Linked DNA regions of Homo sapiens: all the other regions are linked to region 1. Evidence: promoter capture Hi-C in human tissues and cell types (Jung and others, 2019). All regions are on one chromosome and are shown on one strand. The core of a region is centred on a gene start or on the middle of the fragment in contact, and the rest is flanking DNA. Distances in the headings are between cores, read along the strand shown. Region 1 holds the start of CYP2A6 (cytochrome P450 family 2 subfamily A member 6). Region 2 overlaps CYP2B6 (cytochrome P450 family 2 subfamily B member 6). Region 3 overlaps NUMBL (NUMB like endocytic adaptor protein).

Region 1 (2,700 bases), core at 5-2,504:
GGAAGTGGGGAGAGAAAGAGAGTGATGGAGGAAGAGGATGGAGGGAGGGGAAGTGAGATATGGGGAGATCTGGGAGGAGGAAATAAAAATGGTGAAAGATTCTTAAGCTGAGCTGGAGAAGAGAGAAAAATATTGAGATAGAAACAGAGAGGGTCTGGAAGGAAGAGAGACTGTTACCAGGAGATGGAGGCTGAAGATGTGGAAGTAGGAATACCCTGAAATCCTAAGACAGAGGAAGAAGTGAGAAAGGGATGCGGAGAGATGAGAAACACAGAGAAGCCCAGAAGCTAAGAGGGACAAAAAGACAAATGAAGACAGAGAACCAGGGCTGGAAAACAGAAACCCAGGATGTCCTTAGAGATGGAGAGAGAGGGGAAAGAGGAGACTCCAGTGAGAGAGAATAAGGAGGTGGGGCAGAGAGAGGCAGGGAGGAATCAGGACAGGGACGCTGGAGACAGGTGAGGGATACACATGGAGAGGCCACAATGAAGGGAGATGGGGAGGGAAGACCAGACTGGGGACTCTGCCTTAGCCTCCAGTTGGCAGGAGAGTCAGGGAGAAGGCTGGGAACACTGAGACCTTCGTGTCCACCTGGCCACCTTCCCCCTCTTGGGCACCCCCTCACCATAGCCTTTGAAGACCCAGTCGAAGGTGGCTTGCTCGCCTCGCCCGCTGAACTCCTCAGCCTGGTCCACCAGAGCCTCCCTGACGGCATCATGTCCACACAGCACCACGACCCGCCGGGGCCCCAAGTGAATGGTGAACACGGGGCCATAGCGCTCACTGATCTGATGGAGGTGGGTGGGAGTGGTTAGAGGGAGAAGCCTCCACTCTGAATGGGGCCCAGCACCGAGATGTCATGTGCTGGGATGCTTCGCACCCAGGTTCTCACAGTCAGGGAGCTGGACATCCCAAGATCCTGTCTTTCTGATGCTGAAACTCCAAAACTCCATTTCCTAAGACTCTGGTCCACACTGGTCAACCCCCTGCCACAAAGCCCCAGCCAACTAGGCAGCCCCCACCCCGTGCCACCCATCTCCCTGCCTTGGGACACCTTCATGAGGGAGTTGTACATCTGCTCTGTGTTCAGCTGCAGGTAGTTTCCAATGAAGGGCAATGGGGTGGGTCCCGGAGGCAGCTTCCCCTTGCTCTTCCTCTGCTGCCAAACAGACATCAAGACCATTACAGTCAGGCAGACCAGCAAGGCCACCAGAAGCATCCCTGAGGCCAGCATGGTGGTAGTGGGATGATAGATGGTGACGGCTGGGGTGGTTTGCCTTTATACTGCCTGAAAAAGAGGGATGGACTTTGGCTGATTACATAATTACCTCATTTCACCTCCCAACTACATGCCCCACCATGAATCCTGCCTAGCTTGGGACACAGCCAGCAAGGGAGGATAAGGGGACCCCAGGGCAGCTGAACAGAGAGGGGGCCTCCAGACTAAATCTGTGGTACTTCAGGAGGGGTGCCGCAGGGCTGTGGATTTAGGAGGGGGCAACAGATAAGCTGTAGAACTGAGGAGTTTGGAATATTTGCATAGGGGAGCACTTGGGCTTTGGATTTGGGGTCTGAGAGTGAGAATGCACCCCAAAGTTGTGGATCTGGGGGTTCCAGGGGAGAGGAATCCAAAGGTCTGGGTTTTATTAGGGTAAGACAAAGTGTGGCTGTGCATTTAGGGGTCTTCTGTTGTGGAGGATGCAGGGTTAAGGGTCTCAGGAAGGGGGATTCCAGGCATATGGACTTGAAAGTCTCGGGGCTAGGAAGACCCAGGGCTGTGGGTGTGGAGTTTCTGGGAGGAGGAGTGTGTAGCAAGCCCAGCGGGTTCTCCCAGAAAGCCCAGCAGCCCAGCACTGGGTCCAGGGGCTGACTTGATTTTGCTTTTGCCCAGAGCTGTCTCTTGATGCCCAGAATCCTCATTGGAACCTCAGAGTGAGGCCAGGATGGGTGCCATAGAACCTCCACTGCCCATCTCTGATTGGGAAGGGGAGGAAGACCAGAGCCATATTTCAGGGGAACTTTCCCCACACCTGGAGAAGAGTACCTGGAGTTAGCGGTTGGCAGAGGGATTGGCTAGGTCTGGAGAAATAGTAATAACAACCCCCAAATGGTGGAAAAATCTCAAGTGTCCCAAGGGTTGTCCGCTGGTTTCCAACCCAGATCCTCAGGGAAACCCACTAGATTGATTGTATCATCCCTATTAATATTATGATTGTTGTTTATGTTTCTCATTTTATATAAAGATCTACAGAGGACAGAAAACAGACAGTGGGCAGGGGACATGTGTGAGTGGCCCTGAACTCCCATCTCTCCTGCTCTGTGTACTTAGTTCCCCTTTCTGGATTTGGTTTTCCTGCCAGTGGAAAGGGAGTGTTTGGGAAGAGAAGATCACATTCGAGGGTGAGTTAAGTCTCCTTTAAGAATGATTCCTGCTTTGTCAGGGGCTACTACTATTAGCAGGCAGAGGGAACAGTGGCAGAAGAGATTGGGGTAAACTCCAGTATTAGGCACAGAGGCAGATCCTGGGGTGGGTGTGAGTGGAGAAGGGATGAGTAGCCCTCCTGTCCTTCCCTCAGGGAAATTCTTCCTTAGTAAACAGGACAGTTACCCTTTGGTGAGCATGGTCGTATACGGGAAGATTAAGTCTAGGTGTGTATGATCTGGTTGAATCTTTGTAACAATGAGGTTGGTTCATCATGA
Region 2 (2,880 bases), core at 234-2,733, 150 kb after region 1:
AAGGAAGGATGAGGAAGGGGCTTTACTGGCCCAACCAGAAACGGAAACTAAGAACCCATGACTGTATTCTCTCCCTTGGACAGCGTTAACCATTAACCCTTAATTGCTGGGTCCCAGCAGGGGAAAGGGCAGCCTGGGGAGGCGGATGTTGGGGAGGGGCTAATTACCAATCTGGTATGTAAGTATTTTGATAGTTTTACAAATGAGGTGTATGCTGACTAACAGCCACCCCTGGTGTGGATGTGATTGGCAGTTCCGAGAGAAATATGGGGACGTCTTCACGGTACACCTGGGACCGAGGCCCGTGGTCATGCTGTGTGGAGTAGAGGCCATACGGGAGGCCCTTGTGGACAAGGCTGAGGCCTTCTCTGGCCGGGGAAAAATCGCCATGGTCGACCCATTCTTCCGGGGATATGGTGAGAGCCTCAGAGGCACTGGGAGGGGGCGGGTGGGGGGTGCATCAGGGAAGGGAGTATATGGGAGGAAGAAGGACTCAGAGCCTTCTTCCAACTTCTTCTACAACCAACCCACACCTCCCCTGCACCCCAGGTGTGATCTTTGCCAATGGAAACCGCTGGAAGGTGCTTCGGCGATTCTCTGTGACCACTATGAGGGACTTCGGGATGGGAAAGCGGAGTGTGGAGGAGCGGATTCAGGAGGAGGCTCAGTGTCTGATAGAGGAGCTTCGGAAATCCAAGGGTGAGTCCTGGGGGATGAATAGGAAAGAAAGACAATGAAACACTGAGAGATGCAGGTGCACGGGAATAGAAAGACAGAGAGGTATATAAGGGCACAGACAGAGACAGACGAAACTGGAGACACCATCAGACAGAGGGATAGAGACAGAGAGGGAGAGAGACAGGGGAATAGAGAGGGATGGGGATGGGCAGGAGAGAAACACAGAGAGCCAGGGAAAGAGAGAGATGCCAGGTGTATAATGTCCAAGAGTTACTCAAAGAGGCTGGATGTGATGACTCTCACCTGTAATCCCAGTACTTTGGGAAGCTCAGGCAGGAGGATTGCTTGAGGCCAAGAGTTGGAGAACAGCCTGGGCAACATAATGAGATCCTGTCTCTACACAATATAGAAAAGAAGTGAGCCACGCATGGTGGTGTGTGCCTGTAGTCCCAGCTACTCAGGAGGCTAAGGTGGGACTACAGGATCACTTGAGCCCAGGAGGTTGAGGTTGCAGTGAGCTGTGATTGTACCACTGCACTCCAGCCTGGACAACAGAGCAAGATCCTGTCTCAAACAAACAAACAAACCCTCAAAGACATATAATTTCATGGATCAATTGTGTCTGTCAAAGTCAAAAACGGAAGTTAAGTAAAAGAAAAAAACTACAGACATTTAACAAATAATGAACTGTGTTTTCCTTGCCCTGGGTGAAGTGCTGATGAGCTGGCAGTGAGCAGACAGGCCAGGTGGGGTGTTCTGCCCGGGTGCAGCTGGAGGGGTCATCAAAGAATCACTAGGTTATTTTTGAGTTCTCCATAACTTGGTGTCTGTGAGACATGTAGGTGAAGGGTCTCTGGCTAGCACCTCCATCTCATTCATGCCAGGTGTTTACCATCTCTCTTATCAAAATTTCTCAAGAGACTCTGGGATGTAAATGCAGAGGCTGCATGGGGAGGTAGAGACCCAGGAGCTATAGGGAAACGGGGACAAGAAGACTGAAGAGAAGGACAGGAAGAAACAGTGACACAGGCAGGAGGAAAGAGACAGATGGAGGGACCAAAACAAAAAAATATAGGTTGGGTATGGGGCTCATGCCTGTAATCCCAGCACTTTGGGAGGCTGAGGCTGGCGGATCATTTGAGGCCAGCAGTTCAAAACCAGCCTGGCCAACATGGTGAAACCCCATCTGTGCTAAAAATACAAAAATTAGCCAGGCTTGGTAGCACGTGCCTTTAATCCCAGCTACTCAGGAGGCTGAGACAGGAGAATTGATTGAGCCTGGGAAATGGAGGTTGCCGTGAGCTAAGATCACACTACTGCACTCCAGTCTGCATGATAGAGTGAGACTCTGTCTCCAAAAATAATAATAATAATAATAAAATAAAGAACGGCAGGGGGGAGACAAATATACACACAGAGAGACAGAAAGAAACAAAGGCAAAGAGAAATTGAGGCAGAGAAAATTAGAGAGACAGACAGACAAAGCTTAGGAAAAGGTCTGCAGAGGAATGAGAGAAGACAGGCAAGTGAGAACCAGAGAGAGGCTGCACTAACCTGATGTTCTTGGGTCCTTACAGACCACTCTCCCTCCAGCTGGGGCCAGTGCTGAGCCTGGTGTATACAGGTATCACTTAACAAGTACAGAATAATTCCCAGAAGACTGGAGAGCCCTAGATGTGGAAAGAAGAGATTAAGGGGGAGTAATAGGTAGGGGTGGAAAGATGGTTTTTTATTTGTTTTAAATTAGAGACGGGGTCTCACTCTGTACCCAGGCTGGAGTGCAGTGGCACGATCATAGCTCACTGCAGCCTCAAACTCCTGGGCCCATGTGATCCTCCCACTTCAGCCCCTGGACTATTTCAACTGGGACTACAGGCATGTGCCACCATGTCTAGCTACATTTTTTTTTTTTTTTTTTTGTAGAGACAGGGTCTCCTTATGTTGCCCAGGCTGGTCTTGAATTCCTGATCCTTTTGAATCAGGCTCCCGAAGTGCTGGGTTTAGAGGTATGGGCCCCTGTGCCCACCCAGGGCTTTTTAATTTATATAAGCAATTGATTGAACACCTACTCTGCCCAGCCCCTATCCCTGGGATTTAACTGTACTCACTCCCAGAGTCAGAGGTGGGGCCTGAGAGGAGGTGCAGAGTGAGAACCGGCTGCATGGACTCTATAGCTGTGTTGCCTGGGTCTAAATCCTGGCC
Region 3 (2,700 bases), core at 190-2,689, 180 kb before region 1:
GGGAAGTGCTGTGTCACCATGAAGGAAAGGGTGTTCTAGGCAGAAAGAATGACAAATGCAAAAGCTTGGAGGTGAGAGTGTGGCTTATCTCTGGCAGGGTCCTCTGCTCCCTGCCTGGGACATTCCCCCAACGTCATACCCCGACAGAGCTGTCTTAGGTCTCCTAGTCCTGGAGTCCACAAGCAGGTTAATGGGATGTAATGGAAACGCTATAGAGGGCAGACCCCTAGGCTTGTTCCCTCACAGCCTGATGCTTTTTTGTTTTTGAGACAGAGTCTCGCTCTGTTGCCCAGGCTGGAGTGCAGTGGCGTGATCTTGGCTCACTGCAACCTTGGCCTCCCAGGTTCAAGCGATTGTCCTGCCTCAGCTTCCCAAGTAGCTGAGATTACAGGCACCCACCACCACGCCTGGCTAAGTTTTGTATTTTTAGTAGAGACGGAGTTTCACCATGTTGGCCAGGCTAGTCTCGAACTCCCAACCTCAGGTAATCCACTTGCCTCGGCTTCCCAAAGTGCTGGGATTAAAGGCATGAGCCACCACGCCCAGCCTTTTGTTTTGTCTGCTTTTTTAGACAGGGTCTCACGCTGTCACCCTCACAGGCTGGAGTGCAGTGACTGCATCACGGACCACTGCAGCCTGGACCTCCCAGGCTCAAGCAATCCTCCCACCTCAACCTCTCCAGCAGCTGGGACTACAGGCGTATGCCACCACGCCCACCTAATTTTAAAATTATTTTGTAGAGACAGGGTCTCATTATGTTGCCCAGGCTGGCCTCGAACTCCTGGGCTCAAGCGATCCTCCCACCTTGGCCTCCCGAAGTGCTGGGCTTACAGGTGAGAGCCACCTCAGTGCCCGGCCTCAGCCTGATGGTTTCACGACTGCCTTTGACTTTGGCCCACACTAATCAAATGTATCACCGTGGGCCACTGACTCAACTTCCCCATCTATCCAGTGGGAATAGAATATTGGACTGCACAAAATCAACCACCTCATTTTAAAGAGCTATAACGAAACAAAATTTATATGTTATATATTTTTAAAAATACATCTTATAGATTAAAGGACTCAAGAAACAATAGCAAGACTGTAAAACGTTGCCACATCAGGTGACACTTTGGCCAGAGTTATGGAAAATGCTGACAAAACAAGAATTTGCCAGCATGGGCAAAGATATACTGTTACCAACCCAACTTGTTAAAATATTAATATTGAGCTAATTAGAAGTAGTTTTTTTTTTTTTGTTTTTTTTTTTTGAGACAGAGTCTCATTCTGTTGCCCAGGCAGGAGTGCAATGGTGTGACCTCAGGTCACTGCAACCTCTGCTGCCTGGGTTCAAGCGATTCTTGTGCCTCAGCCTCCTGGAATTACAGGCGCCTGCCACCACGCCCGGCTAATTTTTGAATTTTTGGTAGAGACTGGGTTTCTCCATGGCGGCCAGGCTGGTCTCGAACTCCTGACCTTAAGTGATCTGCCTGCCTCGACCTCCCAAAGTGCTGGGATTACAGGCGTGAGCCACTGTGCCCAGCCAGCAGTTCATAATATTTGTTTTTTATTCCTTGATTCTAACTCTGTAAGGAATAGAAATGGGGTGATTAATTTTGGCTCCTTTAATACCCGCCTGGCAGGTGCTGAGTCAGTGGTACCTGTTACCACGCTATGACTCAGAGGTTATCACTCAGGGACATCCTTCTGACTCTGTTTCAGTCCATGACTCAGGAGGAAAGGTTCTAGGGCCTCACCAGCGCCCTACACACACCCTCGTTTCCCGAGGGGCACCATTATATTCTTCCTTTATTGGCTGTCCTTGTATAATACAAATCTTCAAGTTTAGATACAAAAAAAATCTGGAAATAAAAGATAGAAAAGTACCCGCCAGGCACCCCTTCCCCTTCTTCCCGGACCCCTCCCCAGCGGGCACCGACATGAGGTAACTGCGCATCTTCTCCTCCTCCTCCCTCCCCGCCTCCTGGGCCCCCAACTTGGCCCTAGCCCCCATGAGACCTTGGCCCAAGGAAGACATGGGCCCCAAAGTTGGAGGGTGATGGAGGTGAGTACAGCATTGGCAGTGAACGCAGCGTGTGGGCAGAGGGCAGCCCTTAGCTTGTGCTGTGCATGGGGGGAGGAGACGACCAGATTTGGGGTGGGCACTGGTGTGGGGCCCAGGAGAGCCCCTAAGCAAGTGTCCCCCCTCCATCCTGTCCAACACTGGAAGGTGGGGGTCAACAGAAACTGGGAAATGGAGTGTGAACCAAGGGCATTCAGTGGGATTGTGGCCAACCCCTGTGTCTGGGGTTGGGGAAGGGGGCATTGCCAGCCTAAGTCCGGCAGTGAAATGGTTCCCTTAGCCAGGCTGGGTCCGTCCCTGAATTCCATCCTGTTGCAACCTGGGCGTCACAATGTTGGTTCTGTAGTGGTTGTCGGGGTGGTTGAGGGAGGGGGGTGTTGAGAGGGTGTTGAGGGGCGCAGCCCCAGGGAGCAGGGTTAGGGGAGAGGTTGTGCCTCCACCCCCAGGCGTGGGGCACCTGGAGATGATGGAGTGGGTGGGGCGGCTCGGGCTACAGTTCAATCTCGAATGTCTTTTGCAGGTCGCCAGAAAAGGGGTTGGAGGGTTTCTCTACAGTGGCTTTGCCTTCTAATGCCGCCCACTGGGCCTCAAAGGGGTCCAACTCTGGAGCTGGGGCAGGCGCTGGCTCAGGGGGC

The links. Contacts are between HindIII fragments. The study calls those that stand out against the background at their distance.
Region 2: a fragment that was not itself captured here is called in contact with the fragment with the promoter of CYP2A6 in region 1 in 2 of the 25 tissues and cell types used here (H1 embryonic stem cells and mesenchymal stem cells).
Region 3: a contact is called between a fragment that was not itself captured here and the fragment with the promoter of CYP2A6 in region 1, in 1 of the 25 tissues and cell types used here (spleen).

What each region holds. Positions count from the first base shown.
Region 1 is chr19:40,849,193-40,851,892 of GRCh38, forward strand. It overlaps CYP2A6 (cytochrome P450 family 2 subfamily A member 6), which reads right to left and starts at 1,255. Exons shown (of 9, transcript NM_000762.6): 1 at 1,055-1,255; 2 at 626-788. The coding sequence starts at 1,234. RefSeq lists promoters at 1,234-2,253, 1,234-1,370 and an enhancer at 2,423-2,451. The HindIII fragment of the contact is 10,166 bases long and covers 1-2,700 here.
Region 2 is chr19:41,003,748-41,006,627 of GRCh38, forward strand. It overlaps CYP2B6 (cytochrome P450 family 2 subfamily B member 6), which reads left to right. Exons shown (of 9, transcript NM_000767.5): 2 at 254-416; 3 at 550-699. Among named protein-coding and RNA genes, the nearest start is that of CYP2B6, 14 kb to the left of the region's middle. The HindIII fragment of the contact is 5,944 bases long and covers 1-2,880 here.
Region 3 is chr19:40,664,913-40,667,612 of GRCh38, forward strand. NUMBL (NUMB like endocytic adaptor protein) reads right to left here. Exons shown (of 10, transcript NM_004756.5): 10 at 993-2,700. The coding sequence ends at 2,556. Among named protein-coding and RNA genes, the nearest start is that of NUMBL, 24 kb to the right of the region's middle. The HindIII fragment of the contact is 6,620 bases long and covers 1-2,700 here.